Linked DNA regions of Homo sapiens: all the other regions are linked to region 2. Evidence: promoter capture Hi-C in 16 types of primary human blood cells and fetal thymus (Javierre and others, 2016). All regions are on one chromosome and are shown on one strand. The core of a region is centred on a gene start or on the middle of the fragment in contact, and the rest is flanking DNA. Distances in the headings are between cores, read along the strand shown. Region 1 holds the start of ILVBL-AS1 (ILVBL antisense RNA 1). Region 2 holds the start of RASAL3 (RAS protein activator like 3). Region 3 has its middle 7.2 kb from the start of SYDE1.

Evidence for each region. Contacts are between HindIII fragments. The CHiCAGO score rates a contact against its expected background, and 5 or more counts as called.
Region 1: a contact is called between a fragment that was not itself captured here and the fragment with the promoter of RASAL3 in region 2, in 1 of 17 cell types (naive CD4 T cells). The highest score is 5.5, in naive CD4 T cells.
Region 3: a fragment that was not itself captured here is called in contact with the fragment with the promoter of RASAL3 in region 2 in 2 of 17 cell types (naive CD4 T cells and naive CD8 T cells); the score reaches 6.6 in naive CD4 T cells.

Annotation. Positions count from the first base shown.
Region 1 is chr19:15,122,543-15,125,242 of GRCh38, forward strand. It overlaps HACL2 (2-hydroxyacyl-CoA lyase 2), which reads right to left. Exons shown (of 16, transcript NM_006844.5): 2 at 2,383-2,527; 3 at 833-1,034; 4 at 574-701; 5 at 350-488; 6 at 151-262. The coding sequence starts at 2,517. It overlaps ILVBL-AS1 (ILVBL antisense RNA 1), which reads left to right and starts at 1,618. Exons shown (of 3, transcript NR_186314.1): 1 at 1,618-1,683; 2 at 1,922-1,963. RefSeq lists an enhancer at 1,984-2,700 and a silencer at 2,698-2,700. The HindIII fragment of the contact is 596 bases long and covers 1,153-1,748 here.
Region 2 is chr19:15,463,103-15,465,802 of GRCh38, forward strand. It overlaps RASAL3 (RAS protein activator like 3), which reads right to left and starts at 1,442. Exons shown (of 18, transcript NM_022904.3): 1 at 1,403-1,442; 2 at 929-1,275. The coding sequence starts at 1,256. RefSeq lists enhancers at 666-805, 906-1,035, 1,676-1,785. The HindIII fragment of the contact is 11,932 bases long and covers 1-2,700 here.
Region 3 is chr19:15,098,827-15,101,526 of GRCh38, forward strand. No RefSeq gene overlaps it. Among named protein-coding and RNA genes, the nearest start is that of SYDE1, 7.2 kb to the right of the region's middle. The HindIII fragment of the contact is 465 bases long and covers 1,042-1,506 here.

The sequences.
Region 1 (2,700 bases), core at 201-2,700, 340 kb before region 2:
TTGCACATGCTGTTCCTTCTACCTGGAATGCTCTCCCCCCAGCTGTCTCCTCCCAGTCCACATGTGAATCAAAGGAGGATGGGTGTGGGCTGGAAGCTGCAGGAGAGAACGGGGGATAAAGGAGGGAATGGCAGGGGTGGGGCTATTCACCAGGAGACCACTCGGCCCACGAGGCCCTTGGGTGGCTTGGCTGGCACCATCTCCTTCTGGACCATGAAGTAGGGGTACAGCACGTCAACGGGCAGCTCCACAAACACCGGACCTGCAGGGACAGGGAGGACGCTGAGTCCATAACATGTCCCCAGCCCCTCGGCCCCAGCACTGCTCAGCATCACCATCCTCCACCTACCTGGGGTGCCCGACTGGGCGGCAGCCATCGCGGCCCTCAGGGTGGGCACAATGTCCCGCACCCTCCGCACAGACACACAAAACTTACAGAGTGGCCGGAAAAGGGACAGCTGATCAACAGCCTGGAGCGCACCCCGGTTCTGGCAAAGACAGAGGTGTGGCAGGGTTATCGCATGAGCCCTTCAAGCCCCCCTAGGCCCCCACTGGCCCCCAAGGACTGGGTACCTGCAGCAGAGTGCTGGCAGCCCCACCCAGAAGCAGGATTGGGGACTGAGCCATCTGAGCATTCTTCACCGCAGTCACCGTGTTGGTGAGGCCAGGGCCTGCTGTCACTGCCGCCACGCCCACCGTCCCTGGAACACAGAGCCCATCACAGCCATGCCCACTCTCTTGGCCATTCTTCCACCTCTGAAAAACCCCTACCCTCACAGACACTCTAGCCCACAGTCCAACCAGTCCCCAGCCCTCTCTGCAATGCCCTCACCGGACAGGCGGGCCATAGCATCAGCAGCAAAGACGGCCGTGACCTCATGGCGTGTGTCCACCACACGGATGCCCAGTTTCTCACAGGCCACCAGCAGCGGGGAAATGTGCCCACCGACCAGCGTGAAGATGAACCGCACACCATGGGCCCTCAGCACAGCGGCCACGTTCTCTCCGCCATGCCGGACGCTTGCCTTGTCCACCTGGGCCCAAGGACAGGTGGAGCAATAAAGTTAAAGGCCAGGGCAGAGGGCAGCTGGGAAAGGGGGCAATCCCCCTGCCCCAGGTAAGGGGGCAGGAGCAGGGTGAGAGGTCAAGAGAAGCTTGGTCTTGGTTAGGCATATATTATACTACATGCCAGGCTCAAACCAAGGCATAACATCTTATCAGATCCTCTTGTCATTACATCCCTCTTACAGCTGAGGACATCAAGGCTTGCCCAAGTAAGACTGAAAGTTCAATAGAACCCACGCTCTTAAGTGCCCCACTGTTACACTGCCTGTCTCCAGGATGGCAGGGCAATCAGGGAGAGAGGAGAGGGTTATATAACCCAGGGGGTTTGGCCAGGGGCACAACGCACGCAGAGCAGATGGCAGGGAGCCATCTGCTGTGACTCCTCCCTGCCCTCCAGTATCCTTGCAGAGCCTGGCAGCTGGGCTCCTGATCCCAGCCTCCCTGATGCCCTCCTGATGGACGCTAAACAGGCCCAGGGCTTAGTTGACAGGCTGCCAGCCACCATGTGCCTGGCACGGGAGTGAGCTGCTGGCACAGACTGTGCCGAGGCCTCCCAACTCCAGCTGCCTCACAGCCCTACACATCCAAGGCTTGCTTTAAATCTCCTAAGTCCTGAAGGTCAGTGGCATCACTCCTGGCTAGCAGAGGAAGCAGTAGAGAAGGGTTTGGGGAGGGAGAGGTCAAGCTTGGTCCCTGCTAGGAGAGAAAGGGTTGAGGAAGGGGTCTGGAGAAGGGGTAAATTTCAAACAGAGGTGCAAGGAGTTTAGGGGGACACCTGTGGGGTCAGCTCTCTCCAAACATGTCACCTAGGGCAAACCACCACACAATCTCTCTGAGCCTCAGCTTCCTCTTGCAGAAAATGAAGACAGAAAGAACAGCACCTACTTTCAAGGAAAAGGTAAGGGGTAGGTAAGAAAGTCTACAGTACTGAGCTCAGCAGAGGGCAACTGTTATGAAACTGTCACTGCCACCCCCTCGCTGGAGCCTGCCCTCTGCCCCATTTATCCCATCCAGGTTAGGGAGCACAGAGTGCTGTCCATCTGTTCTGTGAAAAGAGTCACTGGGGAAGGAGGTAGGTGGGGTGCGAGTGCCCCGGCAGCGGCAGCTTCCGTGTTCTCTCTTACCAGTGGCAAAGTCCAGGCCTCCATACACAGCGTGGCAATGGAGACAGGGCCCTGGACAGAACCTCTTACCAGTCCCTCTGGACTAGTCGGGGCTCGCTTTCCCACCCTGCACAATGAGTGAGCTGGAAGCAGCACCACGAGGCCCCTCCCTCTTTGACTGCCCCCAGCCCACCTCCCATTCTGTGCCCCGCACCTTGTGCAGCAGCTGATAGAAGAGCCCCAGGCGGTGAGCGGCGCCCAGCAAGGCGGCCACCAGCGTCCCGCAGGCCAGGAGCAGGAAGGAGGGGAATAAGCTCCCAGCGGGGGCGGCGGCCGCGGGGGTCTCCATGAGGTGGTACCTAAGAGAGAAAGGGCACTTCCCAGACTTGGGCGCGACAGGGAACCTCTCCGGAAGAAATCGCGCCCCTTCTCGCAGCAGGATCCAGGGCCACGACCCTTGCCGCCAGTTTCTGTGCGGCCACGCCCCCAACCCTGCCAGACCACGCCCTTTGTGCGCCTAGGCTCGGGGTGA
Region 2 (2,700 bases), core at 192-2,691:
TGAGATGGAGTCTCCCTCTGTCGCCCAGGCGGGAGTGCAGTAGTGCAATCTCAGCTCACTGCAACCTCCACCTCCCGGGTTCAAGCGATTATCCTGCCTCAGCCTCCTGAGTAGCTGGGAGTACAGGTATGTGCCACCATGCCTAGATACTTTTTTTTTTTTGTATTTTTAGTAGAAACAGGGTTTTGCCATGTTGGCCAGGCTGGTCTCGAACTCCTGAGCTCAGGTGATCCACCCACCTTGGCCTCCCAAAGTGCTGGGATTACAGGTGTGAGCCATCATGCCTGGCCCATCTGTCATTTTCTTGTTGATGGATTTCCTGTCAATTCCACTACACTGTGAGCTCCATGGGGCAGGGAGGGTCATCTGTCTCTTTCACTAGTGTGTCCTCAGTGCCTAAATCAGGGCCTGGCACATACAATAGAAGCTCAACAAACCTCTGCTTGAATAAATGAATGAATATGAGCAAATAAAATTATATACTCTCCAAAATGGAGATCATTATTCTCACTGAACTGATGGAGAGGCTGAGGCTTAAGGGCTCAGAACAAAGACACGGAAGCTAGAAGGTAGGAGAGTAGGAGGCAGGCTGAAGATGGATATCCAGGTAGGAAAGGATGGGCCTGAGCCATTGAAGGAGAGACCCGTTGGGGCCAAGAGCCGTTTAGCCTCTGGACAATACTATCACGGGTTTACATTCACTGTTCCTTCCTCAGATGGACCCTCTGCCCACAGGACCCCGGCAACTCCTCCTACCCTCTTTAGGGGGAAAGAGGGAACAGGGTAGCTGGGCCCCAGCGGCTTCCTGCTGGGCTTTTGCACTCCCCACAACTTCCTGTGTCTGTATGGTTGATGCTCCGGAGGCAGACAAAACCCAAGCATCCGGCTTCCCAGCCCGGCCCAAGCTCAGGGTGGGGGAACCATGTACCTGGGGCCTCCTGCTCCGGCTCCGGGTCTGGCTCCGGCGGTGGGTTCTTATGCCTCCCCCAGAGGGCCTTGGAGAGTCGAAGGCGACTGGTCCGTGACTCCTTGGGAGGCGCAGATAGGACCCGACGGAATATCGAGCGAGGGGCTGGCTGGGTGCTGACCATGGGCTCCTGGTGGCTCAGGGCCCTGCCCCAGCCAGCAAAGCGGCCCCAGCGGAACCCTCCAGCCGCCTTCTCCCCACCGCCCCCTGTGTGCCAGCGGTAGGAAGTCAGCGGAGAGGTGGCTGTGGGCTGGGTTTGGGAGGTCCGGCTTGGCGACGGTGGGTCCATGGTTGGGGGGGGGGGTCTCCTGGGGGACGAGAGAGTGACAGTAGTGCCCAGTGTCTGTCCACATACTGCCCTCATCTCGGCCCCCTCCCCACCCTCAGCTCTGCCTCCAGGAATCCCCCTGCCCCCACCTCCACTCCCTCCCTTACCTTGGTTTCCTGACCAGCCCCAGAATCAGCAGCCGTCTGCACCCCGCCTGGCTTCCTCCCTCGGAACCCAACTCCACGTGACCCTCTCTGTCCCACCCCACCCCACAGCCAGGCTGGGAGGGCACAGTGCGGGCAGGTTGCTGGAGGTTCGAGGGAGGAGAAGAGAGGAGGTGGGTTACCAGGCTTCTAGCAAGAAGGACCCAGACTGCCTCCCTGACGGGGAGGCAGCACTTGCCCCTCTCTCTGAGCCTCCGTTGCCTTCTCTGCAAAATGAGTACAGGCTGAACAAATGCTGGCGAGAATACAAAGCACCTAGAACTCTAATCCACAGTTGGCCGGAGTGTAGACCCATTCACTCATGTTGGGAAACGGTTTGGCAGGATCTACTAACACTACTAGCTGGATCTTCTCTGACTCAGCAATTCCATTGCTAGGTAGACGTCCAATAGATATGCCCCCCCAGCACAATGCATAATAGCCCCACATTGGAAGCAGCCTAAGTACCCATTAGTGGGAGAAGGAATAAATTGTGATCTCTTCGCACAGCAGAATATCATACAGCAGTGAGAACAAACTAAAGAATGATTTAACTTGGGTGAATCACAAACAATGTTGAGCCAAAACCAAAACCAAAGCCATAAAATGCCAGTAATCTGAGCTATTCAGGAGGCTGAGGGAGGAGGATCGCTTGAGGCCAGGAGTTCGAGGCTGCAGTGAGCTGTGATCATGCCTGTGAATAGGCAGTGCACTCCAGTCTGGGTGACATAGGGAGACCTCATATCTAACTTTTTTTTTTCTTTTTCCCCTCCCTGCCCTCGGGAGACCCCATCTCTAAAAAGCAATAATAAATAAATTTAAAAACCCCAAAACAATGAAGAGTATACACTTTGTGATTCCATTTACATAAAGTCCTAAAGCAGGCAAAACCATGTCTAACAAGCAGGGTATCAGTTTCTTTTGGAGGCACTGGTGGCTGGGAAGAGGGTACAAGGGGGGCTTCTGGAAGATGGCAAGATTTATTATTACTCTTATTATTATTAATTGATTTATTTATCGAGAAGGAGTTTCGCTCTGTCTCCCAGGCTGGTGTGCAGTGGCACGATCTTGGCTCACTGCAATCTCTGCCTCCCGGATTCAAGTGATTCTCCCTACTCAGCCTCCTGAGTAGCTGGGACTACAGGTATTCACCACCATGCCTGCCTAATTTTTTTGTATTTTTAGTAGAGACGGGGTTTCACCATGTTGGTCAGGCTGGTCTTGAACTCCTGACCTGAAATGATCTGCCCGCCTTGGCCTCC
Region 3 (2,700 bases), core at 24-2,523, 360 kb before region 2:
ACCAGGTACCAAAAGCACAGCGTATCAGGCCTGCAGCCAACGAGAAAGAAAATTGGAGGAAGAAAAATACATACATGTGGGGCTGGGTGTGGCGGCTCATGCCTGTAATCCCAGCACTTTGGGAGGCCAAGGTCGGGGGATCACTTGAGGTCAGGAGTTCAAGACCAGCCTGGCCAATATAGTGAAACCCTGTCTCTACTACAAATACAAAAATTAGCTGGGCGTGGTGGCACAGGCCTGTAAGATCGCACCACTGCACTCCAGACTGGGCGACAGAGAGAGACCCTGAAAAAAAAAATAGAAAAAGAAAAGAAAGGGAAGGGAAAGGGAAGGGAAGGGAAGGGAAGGGAAGGGAAAGGGAAAGGGAAAGGGAAAGGGGAAGGGGAAGGGGAAAGGGAAAGGGAAGGAAAGGAAGGGAAGAAAGAAAGAAGGAAAGAAAGAAGAAAGAAAGAAGGAAAGAAAGAAAGAGAAAGAAAGAAAGGGGAAGGAAGGAAGTAGAGAGAGAGAAAGAAAGAAGGAAGGAAGGAGAGAAAGAAAGAAAGAAAAGGAAGGAAGGAAGGAGAGAGAAAGAAAGAAGAAAGGAAGGAGAGGGAGAAAGAAAGAAAGAAAGAAGGAAGGAAGGAGAAAGAAAGAAAGGAAGGAAGGAAGGAAGAAAGAAAATACATACATGGCCAGGAGCAGTGGCTCACACCTGTAATCCCAGCACTTTGGGAGACCAAAGAGGAAGAGAAGACTCTATCTCCAAATACAGTCACATTCTAAGGGACCGGGAGTTAAGACTTCAACATAGGAATTTGGCAAGGGACTGAAGGGGACATAATTTGGCCCATGGGTGTCCAATCTTTTCATTTCCCTGGACCACATTGGAAGAAGAATTGTCTTGGGCCACACATAAAATACACTAACACTAACAGATAGCTGATGAGCTAAAAATCGCAAAAAAAAAATCTCATAGTGTTTTAAGAAAGTTTACGAATTTGTGTTGGGTCACATTCAAAGCCTTCCTGGGCCACATGCAGCCTGTGGGTGGCGGGTTAAACAAGCTTGATTTAGCCCATAACAGCCACATAGTATGGCTGACCATTTGTGTGACTGACCTTAGCTACTCAGCCTCAAGCCCCTCGAGAGGTCAAACTGACACAGTGAGGCCCAAGGCCTCCACCATAAAACACGTTTTTGGCATAAACTCTCTGGTGTGACCTCCAGGTATACAAAGAGACTCTCATCACACAGGATACTCCACCAGCTTGAAGGCAACTCTTCAGGAGCCAGACAAGGGCTAGACTTTACTTTGGAATGTGCAGGAGAGCCCAGAAGCATGGGAGGAAGGAGGCAGGAGCTAAGCCTGATGTGGGATCTCTGTCAAAGCCCTGCCCACCCAGCCACCTGTCCTCACCTGATCAGCCACCTCTCTGCAGGCTGCTCCTGCTTCCTCTGGTACACCCAGCCTGTAGAGTCTAGGGGGTCCACACCAGCACACCAGGTCTGGGAGCTGGACATCAGATAAGCTTTGTTTAAGAGACAGGGCCTCAGCTGGGCACGGTGGCTCACACCTGTAATCCCAGCACTTTGGGAGGCCAAGGAGGGCAGATAACTTAAGGTCAGGAGTTCTACTAAAAAATACAAAATCTAGCCAGGCATGGTGGTGGGCGCCTGTAATCTCAGCTACTCAGGAGGCTGAGGCAGGAGAATCGCTTGAATCTGGGAGGCGGAGGTTTCAGTGAGCCGAGATTGCGCCACTGCACTTCAGCCTGGGCAACAAGAGTGAAAACCCTGTCTCAAGAAAAAAAAAAAAAGAGAGAGAGAGACGGGGAGAGACAGGGTCTCGCTCTGTTGCCCAGGCTAGAGGCAGTGGTGCAGTCATAGCTCATTGAAGCCTCAAACTCCTGGGCTCAAGTGATCCTCCTGCCTCAGTCTCCAGAATAGCTGAGACTACAGGTGTGAACCACCATGTCCAGCTTGGAGAGCTCTTGGCATGGCTGCAGTGGCCAGTTGCTGAGTCTATCCCTGAGGCTGTGCAGGGGCCTAGCCAGCAGGAAAGCTCCACAGCCTTGCAGCTGATAAACAGAGACCACTCTGGAGGTGGCATGGAGCAACTATGGACCCCTCCTGCACCTCAGTTTCAGCTCTATAGCTGTCTGGCCAGATTTTTCCAAGGGTCAATGGGAGGCTCTGGTCAAGCAATGCTGTACCACTGACTGTCACCCAGGTGAGACTGTGCCCTGCCTCAGGAAGCTGCTTTATGCTAACAGAATTCATAACCATTTCATTATATACAATCATCCCCTCTCCCTCCAGCTCCTGAATGCTACTGTGATGGATATCTCTGGGCAGCCACCCCTTTGCTGGTTCCTCTGAGGTCTGACTTCCAGCCAGGGAGGCCTAGGCAGGCTGAGGTATTCACCTTCTTCTCCTGGAAGATGCCAGATAGACGCAAGCCTCAGGTGTGGAAACAAATGGGAATGACCACAGCGGGTGGAGGAAGCTTGGGTCCTGCTCCCCAAAACCTTCTCTATCTCCCATCCCCCAGGAACTGAGCACCCCAGGGAGCTGGTAGAATGGAGATGTAGCCCCACAGAACCACGCCCCATGCCCATAGCCTTGAAAACAGCCTAATTTATTATTCCCTTTGCACATGAAACAGAGGCCTAGACAGAATGTCTGTGTTTGGAGTCCACCAGAAGCCAACCTTGAGACAAG